Regions from separate parts of the Homo sapiens genome. Here all the other regions are linked to region 2. The links are contacts of gene promoters, found by promoter capture Hi-C in blood cells and fetal thymus (Javierre and others, 2016). All regions are on one chromosome and are shown on one strand. The core of a region is centred on a gene start or on the middle of the fragment in contact, and the rest is flanking DNA. Distances in the headings are between cores, read along the strand shown. Region 1 holds the start of NDUFB3 (NADH:ubiquinone oxidoreductase subunit B3). Region 2 holds the start of FLACC1 (flagellum associated containing coiled-coil domains 1). Region 3 overlaps TMEM237 (transmembrane protein 237).

What was found. Contacts are between HindIII fragments. The CHiCAGO score rates a contact against its expected background, and 5 or more counts as called.
Region 1: the fragment with the promoter of NDUFB3 here is called in contact with the fragment with the promoter of FLACC1 in region 2 in 13 of 17 cell types (total B cells, naive CD8 T cells, neutrophils and 10 more); the score reaches 18.8 in total B cells.
Region 3: a contact is called between a fragment that was not itself captured here and the fragment with the promoter of FLACC1 in region 2, in 2 of 17 cell types (endothelial precursors and erythroblasts). The highest score is 5.9, in endothelial precursors.

The regions. Positions count from the first base shown.
Region 1 is chr2:201,069,623-201,074,085 of GRCh38, forward strand. It overlaps NDUFB3 (NADH:ubiquinone oxidoreductase subunit B3), which reads left to right and starts at 2,379. Exons shown (of 3, transcript NM_002491.3): 1 at 2,379-2,437. It overlaps HYCC2 (hyccin PI4KA lipid kinase complex subunit 2), which reads right to left and starts at 2,049. Exons shown (of 13, transcript NM_001321623.1): 1 at 1,988-2,049. RefSeq lists enhancers at 1,522-1,661, 1,652-2,277, 1,762-2,031, 2,052-2,141, 2,278-2,901. The HindIII fragment of the contact is 13,158 bases long and covers 1-4,463 here.
Region 2 is chr2:201,354,700-201,359,192 of GRCh38, forward strand. It overlaps FLACC1 (flagellum associated containing coiled-coil domains 1), which reads right to left and starts at 2,646. Exons shown (of 15, transcript NM_001127391.3): 1 at 2,283-2,646. The HindIII fragment of the contact is 10,294 bases long and covers 1-4,493 here.
Region 3 is chr2:201,636,359-201,641,214 of GRCh38, forward strand. TMEM237 (transmembrane protein 237) reads right to left here. Exons shown (of 13, transcript NM_001044385.3): 2 at 4,535-4,566; 3 at 3,903-3,907; 4 at 2,631-2,687; 5 at 390-527. Among named protein-coding and RNA genes, the nearest start is that of TMEM237, 4.7 kb to the right of the region's middle. The HindIII fragment of the contact is 591 bases long and covers 1,595-2,185 here.

The DNA.
Region 1 (4,463 bases), core at 1,129-3,628, 290 kb before region 2:
AAGCAAAGATTTAACTGGTACTCAAAACACTACAGAATTCCACCTAAAATAGAACCAGAAATTTTCTTTGTGACTGAGATTGCATTATTCTTGGAAAAGGAGAAAAGACAAAGAACAAAACACCAAACATCAATAAAAATTTTTATCTAAAGCACTGACAAATGTCTCAGTACTGAGAACATCTGGGAACAAACAACTTTAATGATGCACCTCTTTCCCAATTAAATTTTTGAGAAAAAATGAAATTTTGATTTAGGTTCATATATAGGAATATAAATTACCATTAATAGAAAAAAATCACATCTTATAAAGTTTTTCTGACATGCAGTACCGAAATAAATTTAGGAAAATTGTAGAGTTGCTGACACTACATTAGACCTTATCTCCTAAGCTAAAGGCAATATTTCAAACACCTTACATTTTAGAAATTTATAACACTTCTTTTAAAATCATTTTCCAGTGCTGCTCTCAAAATTGTTTTTCAATGACCTACAAAATCAAGTTTTTATGTCGTTTGCCCTTCCATAACACATACTGAATAGAATTCCTATTTTAATTCTACATTTTATTGTGGAAACAATGAATTATAAAATTTTTTTAAATAAGATAATTTAGTTAATTATATCTATAAATATATTTTGCCTCTGTCCGAGAGGTTCAGAGTCCACTTTTTAAACCTAATAAATAATTCATAAGTAGCTTCTCAGACTTGCTTACAGAACAAACTACTTAAAAGTTGACTTTTTTCTGCCGGGCACGGTGGCTCACGCCTGTAATCCCAGCACTTTGGGAGGCCGAGGCGGGCGGATCATCTGACGTCCGGAGTTCGAGACCAGCCTGACCAACATGGAGAAACCCCGTATCTACTAAAAATACAAAATTAGTCGGGCGTGGTGGCGCATGCCTGTAATCCCAGCTACTCCGGAGGCTGGGGCAGGAGAATGGCTTGAACCCGGGAGGCGAAGGTTGCTGTGAGCCGAGATCGCGCCATTGCACTCCAGCCTGGGCAACAACAGCGAAACTCCGTCTCAAAAAAAAAAAAAGTTTATTTTTTTCCCCATATTCAGACCACCACCTTATTTGCACAGTCCCTAACTTCCACAATATCCTGGGGGGAGGAAGGGATCTACCAACTAATTTTCTAGTCATTTTCCAACTTACACTGAGCTCCTACTGTACATTTTTAAAGGATTCCCCACTTTTCTGAAGATCTTTAAAAAATGTTGTCAGCCTTGACCCTCAAATAAATTCACGAACTACAAAACATGAACCTGGCCACATTCATCGCAAACTAGTATCTGTCAAGTCCATAATTGGGATAAGCTCTTCGTGACTACTCTATCCTCCATGCTACCACCCTTCGCCTAGAGAACCTGCCAATGTAAATGGCACTCAAGCCAATGAAAAAAGTGTTCTAACACATTAATAGGTTGCAAGACCTCCTCTCCCAGGAGGGACAACCTAGTTGTTTGGGTAAATAACAGCCAAAGATTACATAATGTACAGCAATAATGAGTGTTCAGAATCTGACCGCCAGTAAATATTTTTCTTCTCCGCTCCCCCTCACCACCCCCAGGAAATGGCCCTAAGAAGCAATCACTGGGATTTCTCTTAACTGTCTTCAATGCCGTGTCCTTTTCTCGCCTGGGGCTTTGTGCAAAGAATCCCTTCAGCCCTCACGACACCGCCTTGCTCCCGCCTCTCCTCCCTCTCTGCTGGCGCCACCGCAGCCCCCACGCCCTAGGTGGGCCCCCACGTCGCCCCACAAGGCTCGGCTTCCACCCGCCTCGGCTGCCGCCTTCTCCTCCTCACGACCCTCCCAAGATGCTACCTGGTTTACGAGAGGTTCCGGGACCACCAACACACCGGCTACCGCCTTTCCAGACCACCCTCGCCAGCTCCCGTCTGTAGTTTCCGCGGCCGAAGGAGAAGAAAACCCCTCTTCATCTAGCACTTTGCCTCCCCCAAAGACAGCACCGCCGCCTACCTGTCACCCTGCTGTCTCCGGCTTCCTACCGCCGCCGCCTCCCGCAGCAGCCTGCCAACTGCAGCGCAACAACCAACCCTCTCATTGGGTGAGAACACGCTCTCAACAACAGCCTCCCTTATTGGCTGCAGTATGCCGGCAGCCCCGCCCTGTGTGCGGTGTCTAAGGATTCCGTCCCCAAGCAAGGACAACATATTATCTTCCCCGCCCTTCTCTTTTCTACAGTATCTGTTACCTCAGTCAGATTGAGGATGCACATATACTGGGAAAATAATCGACTTCCAGCGTCCCTCATGTAGTCTCTACCTGATTCAGGAATCTCTAACCCAGTATCGGAACGTTAAGCGGCTTCTCCGCTTTCCTGCCGTGAGAAACTCGAGGTGACAACCTCCGTTTCCGGTTGGCTCCGGTTGCAGAGTTGAGTGTCCTGAGAGGTCAGATTGCTGTCAGGTAAATTAGGGAGTTGGTGGGAGGCCCGTTGATTAGGATTAAGAGCTAGACTCTATTCTGGGGAGTGCAGAAAAGGAGAGACTAAATGGAGAAGGATGGGAGGCTGGGAGGGAGATCAAAGAACTAGCAGGCGAGAACTAATGAAGTCCTAGTTTAGAGTTGGGGTAGGAAGAGGTGGTTGGAGGATTCAGTGATCATTACTGTAGTTGTTAAATCCAGGTGCTTGTTCCCGCTTCTGCCACACGCAAAATTGTCTTTGTTTGCCTTTGGATCGCAAAGGCAGAAGAACAGCATCACTAAAAGTAATAACAGTTCATTTGTTTTTTATGTTCTAATATTCATATAATCACAGTTTTTAATACGAGGAAGTTAAGATATATACTTGATAGTCTTCGGTAAACTAAAATTGCATGTAGTGGAAGTAGCATTATCTTCTTATTTCTTTCTTAGGGAAAGGATACCAGCACATTTTCTTAGAGCCAGCTTCCTTTAGTGGAGGTTGATCTTCATGAGACTTTTAGATTCACTTCAGACATAGATAGCTTTTAAAATTTTTGGTTGCATGTTTTTTCTTTATTTAACTAATTTCCTTACTGTTATTATTTGAGCTGCTCTGAAACGGAAATAACCACCATTTTTCAGTCCTCAGCACAATTTAAGTCAATTTTTCTATTTTTATTTTTTATTGTCAAGTATATATACAGAAGGGTGTATAAAACATACATTTTAAAAAATTATAACTAACAGAAGCAGACACTCCTGTATCCACCTCTTAGATTAGAAAATAAAGCATTGCCAATAACTTAGAACATGCAGTCTTAACAGGGGTGATTTTACATTTCAAGGGGTTGAAAATTGGTGGGGCCGGGGTCGGAATCTTAGTTACTACAATGATTTGTGTCCCTCCAAAGGGCCACAGTATATAAACAGTTATACAGTATATATGTAGTGTTAAATTTTCATGGCGGGGGGTGTGATTAGGAATAAAATGTCTAGAAAGGTTCCTTACAGGGACAATAGTTAAAAATTGGTTGAAAAACACTGCCTTAGAATCTCCCAGTATGTTTCTGTGATTCCATCTCCTCCACCAAGAGGTAACCATTATCCTGACTTGTGCTAAGCACTCACTTGTTTTACTTTAATTTTTCCGTCTATGATGAATTCCTAAAAAATGAATTGTTAGGCATTTCAATCTATATAAATGGGTTCAGAGTGCATGTGTATTTTTTTCTGACTCACCCCTTGCTCATTATCCATATTTGTGGAGATTCAATCACACTTTTGCATGTAGTTTTTTGTTGTATAATATTCTACAGTGTGACTATACCATAATCCCTTCTATTGTTATTGGACATTTGGGTTGTTTACAGTTGGGAGAGAGAATAAACAATGTGGCTATAAAGGTTCTTTTAAAAACATATTTCTTAGGCTGGGCACGGTGGCTCACGCCTGTAATCCCAACACTTTGGGTGGCCGAGGCAGGCGGATAATGAGGTCCAGAGATCGAGACCATTCTGACCAACATGGTGAAACCCAGTCTCTACTAAAAGTACAAAAAATTAGCCGGGTGTGGTGGTGCACGCCTGTAATCCCAGCTACTCGGTAGGCTGAGGCAGGAGAATCACTAGAACCTGGGAGGCGGAGGTTGCAGTGAGCCGACATTGCACCACCCACTGCACTCCAGCCTGGCGACAGAGTGATACTCCATCTCAAAAAAAAAATTTGTTTTTTTTTAAAGACTAGAGGCTTGATGTCTCTAAGAAAATATTTTAAATATATTTTTTATATTCCATAAATATAAACCTTTGATCTGTGATTATGTTTATAAGATTTACAGTTGATAAAGTAGATTCATATATCCAAATTGTTCCAAAGACACTTTTATTTATTTATTTTATTTGTATATTTTTTGAGACAGAGTCTCGCTCTGTCGCCCAGGCTGGAGTGCAGTGGCGCGATCTCGGCTTAGTGCAATCTTCACCTCCCAGGTTCAAGTGATTCTTCTGTCTCACCCTCCCTAATAGCT
Region 2 (4,493 bases), core at 1,396-3,895:
GCTTAGAACCTTGTATCTGCTTCCTGTACGAAAGGAGCCAACCCTGAACTTGGGAGATTTAGCAGGAGTCCATGGGGCAAGAAGTGAGAGGCTAAGGCAGGCCCACTTCTAGCAACTGCCTTCTCTCTTCTTGAAGGCCAGGACTCCACTATGGAGTGCTCTCTGTGCCTCAACACCTCCACTAAGCCTTGCAAAGTGGCTTGTCCACAACGGGCATTTGATGAATATTTCTTACCTGACTAGTAAACTTAGTGGTTGTAATCAGCTCATCATGGTGGTTGGGGCTAGCTCAACAAAGAGAAAAAGATGGTATGGTGGCTGATGCCTGTAATTCCAGCACTTTGGGAGGCCAAGGCGAGAGGATCACTTGACGCCAGGAGTTCGAGACCAGCCTAGCCAACAGGGCGAAACCCCGTCTCTACTAAAAACACAAAAATTAGCCAGGCATGGTGGCACATGCCTGTAATCCCAGCTACTCGGGAGGCTAAGGCAGGAGAATCACTTGAACCTGGGAGGTGGAGGTTGCAGTGAGCCGAGATCTCACCACTGCACTCCAGCCTGGATGACAGAACAAGACTCTGTCTCAATAAATAAATGAATAAAACAAAAAACAAAAACAAAGAGAAAAGAGATTCACAGATGAAACTGCCAAAATGTTGTAATCGTCATTACCATATTATAAATAACATTAAACATTTGCATTCAAAAGCCAGAAAGCAGAGGTAAATTGTATGGGTGATACAATCACTCAGTGGAGTTTTACATAGATTTTCAATGATCTTTGATGAATGTGTAGTTGTTTCCTTTTCCTCTTTCCCATGATAAACAATGTCTTGGTATATATTCTTTTGCTCTTAAGAAAAAAAAAAAAGAAGGCCTCACAGGTGTGGTGGCACATGTCTGTAATCCCAACACTTTGAGAGACTGAGGTGGGAGAGTCGCTTGAGGCTAGGAGTTTGAGACCAGCCTGGGAAACATATCGAGACTCTGTATCTACAAAAAATTTTAAAAATAGCCTAGTATGGTGGAGTGTGCCTGTAGTCCCAGCCACTTGGCAGGTGGTGCGGGAGGATCACTTGAGGCCAGGAGTTTGAAGTTGCAGTGAGCTAGGACCACACCACTGCATTTCAGCCTGGGTGACAGCACAAGACCCTGTCTCTAAAAAATAAATAAATAAATAAAATAAAAATAAAGGCCTTTTTCTTTGAACACCCATGGGAGTGATACTCAAAATATTTAACAACCAGTAAGACAAGGCTATTGAATAATCAACCAGGGTTGGAACAGGGTCCTGGGAGATCTCACTCCCACCTCCATGCCAGGCATTAACCCCTTAGTTGCTGAATCATGAGGTGGTCTGGGGGTGCCAGGGGAGGAGTTGGGACAACCAAGGTGGCAAGGAGGACATGCAAGGGGCTTGGACAATGGTCATCTACCAATCAATATGACAGTATTTTATTTATTATTATTATTGTTTTGAGACGGAGTTTTGCTCTTGTTGCCTAGGCTGGAGTGCAATGGTGTGGTCTTGGCTCACTGCAACCTCTACCTCCGAGGTTCAAGCGATTCTCCTGCCTCAGCTTCCCCAGTAGCTGGAATTACAGGCACCCGCCACCATGCCTGGCTAATTTTTGTATTTTTATAACGATGGGGTTTCACCATATTGGCCAGGCTGGTCTCAAACTCCTGACTTCAGGTGATCCACCCATCTCAGCCTCCCAAAGTGCTGGGATTACAGGTGTGAGCTACCGTGCCCTGCCTATATGGCAGTATTTTAATATTTCAGTAGCTAAAATCAGCCCTTGACTTCTCATAGCTTCTTAAGTGGGAACTACTTCTAACAGATTTTTGGGGCATCCTTCCAGAAATGTTGTGAGTGCATATAACCTTAAATGTTTTGCATATAGAACTTAACCTGTAGAGAAGCATAATAGATTTTTTAAATTATTTGCATAAGTGAGAGCATACTTTGCACACAATGTTGCATCTTGTTCTTTTTGTGTAACAGGATATCTAGTTGATATTTCCATGTCATCACAGATAGATCTGCATTTACAGTGGCTTGACATCATATAGCTCTAATTATAGAGGGGTGTGTGAGTGTGTGTAAGGATTTTTTCTCCCCCTTTTTTCCCTTTCCTGCACTTCTACCTGATGATTTTACCTGAGGCTTGCCCTAACAATAGTCACCAGTGAGCCGGCAGAGGCTTCAGAGAAGTTACTGGTTAGTATTAATAATCAGTAGAAAAAATAATATAAAACATCTTTTCCAAAGAGCTTACCTTGGACTGCCCAAAGATCTGTTATTCTCATGTGGCCCAAGTCAAACATCTTAAAGAAACCACCATGTTAGAGAGAAATGGTTCCCCATCAACACAGAATCAGAGTTTACTTTAGATCAAAAGCCACTTTAGTGGCCATTCCAAGTGGTTGAAATGCCGAAGGAGAAAATTCACAGTATATGTACTGCGGGAAGACAGACTTCTAGTGAATCCAATCAAAGGCTTTTACAAAGGCTGGCCTGGCACAAACATGAATTTCCCTTCTAAAGACAAAACAGTTGAAGTTTCTCAGTATTGCAATGAAATTAAACTAGAGGAGAAGGTCACCCCACCATTCAGATTCCTGTGACTTGGGCCTGAGTTGTGAGGTTTGCCCTTGGGAGATGGCAGGCCAAAGTTTGTTTATTTTGTTGCTATGGACACAGAACAGTAGCTCCTCATTGGCTCAGGGCTCTTTTCTTCAAGAGAGAAGGTTGGGAGAAACAGCCAATTAAATTCTCCAAGACACAAATCAGTGACCACCCTCAACAGCAAAGAATTCATACTTTTAACACTGGATTTCCACTTTCGTCATCAGTCATGGGACAAAAAAGTTTAAGATATATCTTCAGAGGAAATAGAATTCAACAGCACTTTTAGGCTTCATTGGTCTATGGCAATAGTTACCAGGCAGGATCTGTGATGGATTTTTAATTCCTCTGTGATCTACTCACAGAAACCTAAAACTCTAGACACTTTTTTCCCTCGAGTTTAAGGCTTTGAAATCTGTGAAAGTAAAAATCCCCCAAGGCAGGAATCTTTTGCAGTCACAAGGTTTTCCGATTTTTTTTTTTAAATAAAGCTGCTTTTTCTTACTATAGAAAAAAGTACTTGCTTATTACAACCCAGTGGCTTTCATTTTAGTTTTACTGCCACTCATTATAAGAAATACATTTTACAAATTTTGTAATAAAAAAATTTCATGAAATAATACTCTTATTATTTGCTATTCTCTTCTATTTCTTTTTCTTCTTTAAATTAAAGCTGATTATAATCCACTAGATTGATTTCATGATCCTGGTGGGTCACAACCCCTAGCTTACAAAATATTGTTATAAATTCATCTATTCACTCAACTTCACATTTGTTGTCTACTGTGTGCCAGGCACTATTGCTAGGTGTGGGGATATACCTCAGTTCTTATACTCAATACAACTTAGAGACCAATGAGAAAACAGACAATAAAAAAGCTCAATAAAAGCATAATTAATTTTTTTTTCCTTTGAGACAGTAGCTCACTCTGTTACCCAGGCTGCGGTGCAGTGGCAGTGGCAGTGCAGGCTGCATGCATAGCTCACTGCAGCCTTGACCTCCTGGACTCAAGCGATCCTTCTGCCTCAGACTCCCAAGTAGATGGGACTACACAGGTGCACAGCACCATGCCCAGCTAATTTTTTTTTTTTTTTTTTTTTTTGAGACGGAGTCTCGCTCTGTCACCCAGGCTGGAGTGCAGTGGCGGGATCTCGGCTCACTGCAAGCTCCGCCTCCCGGGTTCACGCCATTCTCCTGCCTCAGCCTCCCAAGTAGCTGGGACTACAGGCGCCCGCCACTACGCCCGGCTAATTTTTTTGTATTTTTAGTAGAGACGGGGTTTCACCGTTTTAGCCGGGATGGTCTCGATCTCCTGACCTCGTGATCCGCCCGCCTCGGCCTCCCAAAGTGCTGGGATTACAGGCGTGAGCCACTGCGCCCGGCCGCCCAGCTAATTTTTTTGACTTTTAGTATACATGAGGCCTTGCTATGTTGTCCAGGCTGGTCTTGTACTCCTGAATTCAAGTGATCCTCCTGCTTCGGCCTCCCAAAGTGCTGGGATTACAGGTGTAAGTCACCATGCAGCCACAATGACTCATATTGAGACTTGCCAGAAGCAGTGGGAGTTCATAGCAGGAGTTACTCTTCTAGTCCAGTGAGTCAGGCAGCAGTGTTAAACAGAGAAGAGATCTGACTAGATCTACATATCAGAAAGATCATTCTGACTGCAATATAGGGAAGCAATTGGAAGGGCCAGGAAAACCAGGTAAAAGTCTGTGGCAGTGGTCGTCATGGGACCTGACGATGGCCCTGACTGAGGAGCAGCAGTGGGGATGGAGAGAAGACATGATAGAACTTGGTGATTGACTGGATGCTGGGATGAGCGAAAAGGAGAAGGTGATGATTCCTGGCTTTCCAGCT
Region 3 (4,856 bases), core at 640-3,139, 280 kb after region 2:
AACTGCCTGGGACATAGAAAGACTAAACAAATGTTAGCTGTTGTTTCACTATATTATTGTTAGTACAGAATCTACCATTTCCCCACTAATCTGAAATGTCCATTTCATCATTTACTAGATTTTTCTATGCACTGAGATCTGAACTTTCTGTTTAGTCCTGTATTTGTTGCCCTCCTCTCATAATCTATACATATATGATCAAAAGAGACCTGTAAAGTATTCTTGGCTTAAGCCATTGGAGTTATTCTAGTGGTAAATATTTTAAACATAAAAGCAAGAAACCACCTGTGGGATATGGATAGGGGGAAAGAAATGAAAGCAGAGAGGTTTTTATCATGTCATCAAAATCACAAGTGCTATCACAACTTAACCTTGGTTTCTTCACATACCAAGAGGTAGCCTTGTCTTTTTCTGTCTTCTTTGAACAGGAGCCTCTGGGTGCTCTTTGAGTTCTTTAGTTGATGGCTCATTGCCCTCAGAGGGCCTTCGACCAGCAGTCTGAGCAAGGCCTTCCAAAGAAGCACTTGCTATAGAAAAACAGAGTAGAAAAAAATGAGATTACTTGAGCAAAGATCACTGAATCTTAAAAAGATGGAGGAAAAGGTAACTAGAATGTTTCCTATAGAATAACCCCATCTCTTTCAGAACTAATTATCCCCCAAATCTTTCCTTCCTCCTCACCTGTAACTTTGGGCTTTAAGTTAGGAAAAGAAATAAATGAAGGAATAAGAAAGGCTGAGGAAGAAAAAACGAGGGGGCTAAAAAGAAGAGCAAAAGACAGGAGGAGGAGAAATTGCTTCAGAACATTTAGAACTTTGAAAAAGGTGGAAAACATAATAAAAACTGATACCATAGAGAATTCTCTTACTTGCCTCTTGCCTTAAGAATTTTCATCAGCCTCTATATAGTAAAGTCCTTCATTAATAAGTTAAAGAATAATAAAGTCATCATGGATAATTGGAGTTAGCAGGTAATTTATAAGTCTCTTCATTTGGTCATTCACTTCAACTTCTTCCCTCATGAAATCTTTTAAAAGAATTTTAACACATACCTGACTGCATTCCCTTCCTTGCTTGTCTTCTTCACAAAAGAAATAGAAATTGCACTGGGTGCAGTGGCTCATGCCTGGAATCCCAGCACTTTGGGAGGCCAAAGCAGGCGGATCACATGAGGTCAAGAGTTCGAAACCAGCCTGACCAACATGGCAAAACTCCCTCTCTACTAAAAATACAAAAATTAGCCGGGTGTAGTGGCATGCGCCTGTAGTCCCAGCTACTCAAGGAGGCCGAGGCAGGAGAATCGCTTGAACCCAGGAGGTGGAGGTTGCAGGGAGCCAAGATCACACCATTGCACTCCAGCCTGGGCAACAGAGCAAGACTCCGTCTCAAAAAAAAAAAAAAAAAATAGAAATGTATCAATAAACAAATGAAAATGTTTAACCTCAGTAGTACATAGAGAAATGTAAACTAAAATAAGCTACTTTTCCCCCACTAAATTAACAAAAAAATTTTAAAGATTGATTATTGTCCAATGTTGTTAAGGATTTAGAGAATGAGACACTCTCAGACTCTACAGGTAGCAAGATAATAACTAAAGCTTCCTTAAGGTAATTTAGCAGAGTCAGTCATACTAATAATGCACACATCCTGCACCTAGCAATTCCACTGCTAGCAATCCATCCTACAGAAGTACTTCTTCCCTACCACCCACTATTTTATGCAGAACTGCAACATTGTTGGAGTGAAAAATTGGAAATAACCTAAATAAATAACAGAGCAGTGATTATGGTACATTCTTATCATGTAATACAATGAAGTCACTGTTTAAGAATACATAGAACTCTATGTATTAAGAAACAAAGATAGTATGTATGATTCCTTTTATGTTTTTGTTGTTGTTTGTTTGTTTTAAAAAAGGAGCAGCAACCACAGAAACCTTTTAGGAGTGTGAGAGGTCTCAAGTAAAGAGTGAAGTTAAAGGATCAGGTAAAGATAATCTTGAGGTTTCAGGCCTGAGGGCTGGGAAAATGGTAGGTTCCATTAACAGAAAATCATGAGACGTAAAAAAATTATTTATTCTTAAAGGCAACGATGGATTCTAGATGTGCTGAGTTTAGAGTTACGGATGCAACTTCCAGGATTATCAGTGGATGACTAAGACAAAAACGAGTTCTGCTCATGACTGAAGCTTTACTATTTAAATGATGATGTGGCCATGCCTTCAGACTCATGCTGTAATGTAGAGATATTCTGATTGAAGTGAGATTTAAGAACTCTGTGTTTCTAAATTCAGTATCTTGTTCAAGGGTCTGGAATCAATCATAGCTTAAAACCATGTATGTTGTCTGGGGATAAAAGACCTTAAAGAGTCCAGGAATATCATGGAAATAGGAGCTTAGATGGCACCACCTTCTATTCCATGAATGCGTCCAGATACTCCTCAGGCTGCCCACTGCCCTGTACCTCACCACCACCAGGAATTCCACTGCTTCAAACTGGCCTTAATTCTATCCTCAATGAAGTGGAGATTCGGGGCTGCTGGGGCCTTAATTCTCCCTTATCTGTGATGTTTACTACGCCTGAGGTCCTGGGAAAACTTGTGATCCCACACAACAAAGAATAACGTCTTACCTGGTGTGTTTTTTGTTCTGGGCTTCTTTTTCTTAGGACGACTAAGTGGAATATCATCTATAAAGCAAGAAAAAACGTCAACAGAAAAGGGTGCCTAAAATTCAATGCAGAGAACAGTCAGAAGAGAACTTTTAAACAGGGAAGAATTCTCCCTCTCTTCCCTGGGCCTGGCAAACGTTTATAGATTAGGGGAAGAAGGCAAGAAATTGAGAAGATCAGAGAGAGCCCACAGTGTGGTACCAGTAGCACACTGCATGTCAGTAATGTTAGAAACCATGACACAGAAAGTGGGTTCAACAAATATTCATCTGATCCCCTATATTTCCCAGCCTCCTTGCACATAGGTGTAGTCTATGACTGGTTCTGGCCTATAGGCTGTGAGCAGAAGTGATCTGTGTCATTTCAGAGCCAAACGTTGAAAGAGCCAGTGAGTAATCTTCCAGCTTTCTCTTCCCTTGTTGTGGTGACTGAGGAAGCCTCATGTTAAGATGGTGGGACCACAGCACAGAAGTAGCCTAGATTGCAGACCAGGCGCAGTGGCTCACACCTGTAATCCCAACACTTTGGGAGGCCAAGACAGGCAGATCACTTGAGCTCAGGAGTTCGACACCAGCCTGGCCAACATGGCAAAACCCTGTCTCTACTGAAAATACAAAAAGTAGCTGGGCATGGTGGCACACGCCTGTAATCCCAACTACTCAGGAGGCTGAGGCAGGAGAATGACTTGAACCCAGGAGGCAGAGATTGCAGTGAGCCGAGATCACACCACTGCACTCCAGCCTGGGCAACAGAGTGAGACTCTGTCTCAAAACAAAAGAAAAAAAAAAGTAGCCTAGATTGCTATATCAATAGTAAAAAGGTAGTGAAAGGTAATGGTCCCCCATTTTTGCCATAGCAGACTTTGTATTAATTAGAAATAACCCTGTGTGACACTAAGTCACTGAGATTTGGGGGTTTTAGTATAGTATAACCTTGTCTACCCTGACTAAATGAGACAAAGGAAGGTGCAGTCCTCATTATAGAGCTACAAATTAGCCAACAGTTATGTGCTGGGTGACCCCATTCAGGGATGAAGTGCTTTTATAATGGAAAGGTCATCTAGTGCTATGTATCAATGACAATTTTTAAATGGTAGTCATGGGAGATTATTTCACAAAAACATATTGTAGAATTACAAATTACACCATTCAGACTCAGTTTTAAGAGAAACAAACCAAGGAATCAAACTAATTTTTGAACACCAAATATTATATTTACATTAAACTAACTCACCTTGACTAACACGTCATATAACACCAAACAAATTTAATCAGCAGGACAAAGACAAAAAAGAAACAATTAATTAGAAACCTGTTAATATTCACAGTGAAAATTGACTTAAATCATTACAAATTTAAAATAAAATTAGCTTTCACATAATAGCTAGTTTACAAACTAGTTTACTGTTTATAATTAAGTGGTTTAATAACACTGCTAATAAAATAATGTCAATATTTTCTGAACCTACATATACATATTCCCTACTGTCTATTAATAAAATGGATTAAGCAGATTAAGAACTCTTACTTGTGACTGATTAAAATCAGCTTAAACTCTGAGGAAACTATTCTCACAAAAGACCAGAATTCTGATTTAAAAAAAAAAAGACACCAAAACAGTTAGAAAGGGAATGGATCCATTATCCTACCATGTTGATATTCAGGCTTTTAAATATAACATTCCATTATAACTGTTATTCTTAAAATTCAAGGATTTTTCACCTTTAAAATTTCAGAAAATCCCTAAATTTTTCAGAAGAGTTTCCTGAATCATTGTAATTTTGCAATGATACTAGTCAATTTTTCCACTGTCTTCATTTTCCATTTTTAAAGCTCAATAATGAAATTACTGTAAATTATTTTTACCTTGGCACAGGTGGAAGAGCTCGTGGAGGACGCTGTGGCGGAAAAAATAAATTTGCTTGTAAGTAAAAGCCTAGAGCATCTTTACTTCAAATACCATCACGCTATTTTTTTTTTTTTGAGATGGTGTATTGCTGTGTGGCCCAGGCTGGAGTGCAACGGCACGATCTTGGCTCACTGCAGCTTCCATCTCCTGGGTTCAAGCAATTCCCCTGCCTCAGCCTCCCAAGTAGCTGGGATTACAGGCACCCACCACCATGCCCGGCTAATTTTTGTATTTTTAGTAGAGACGGGGTTTCACCATGTTGGCCAGGCTGGTCTTGAA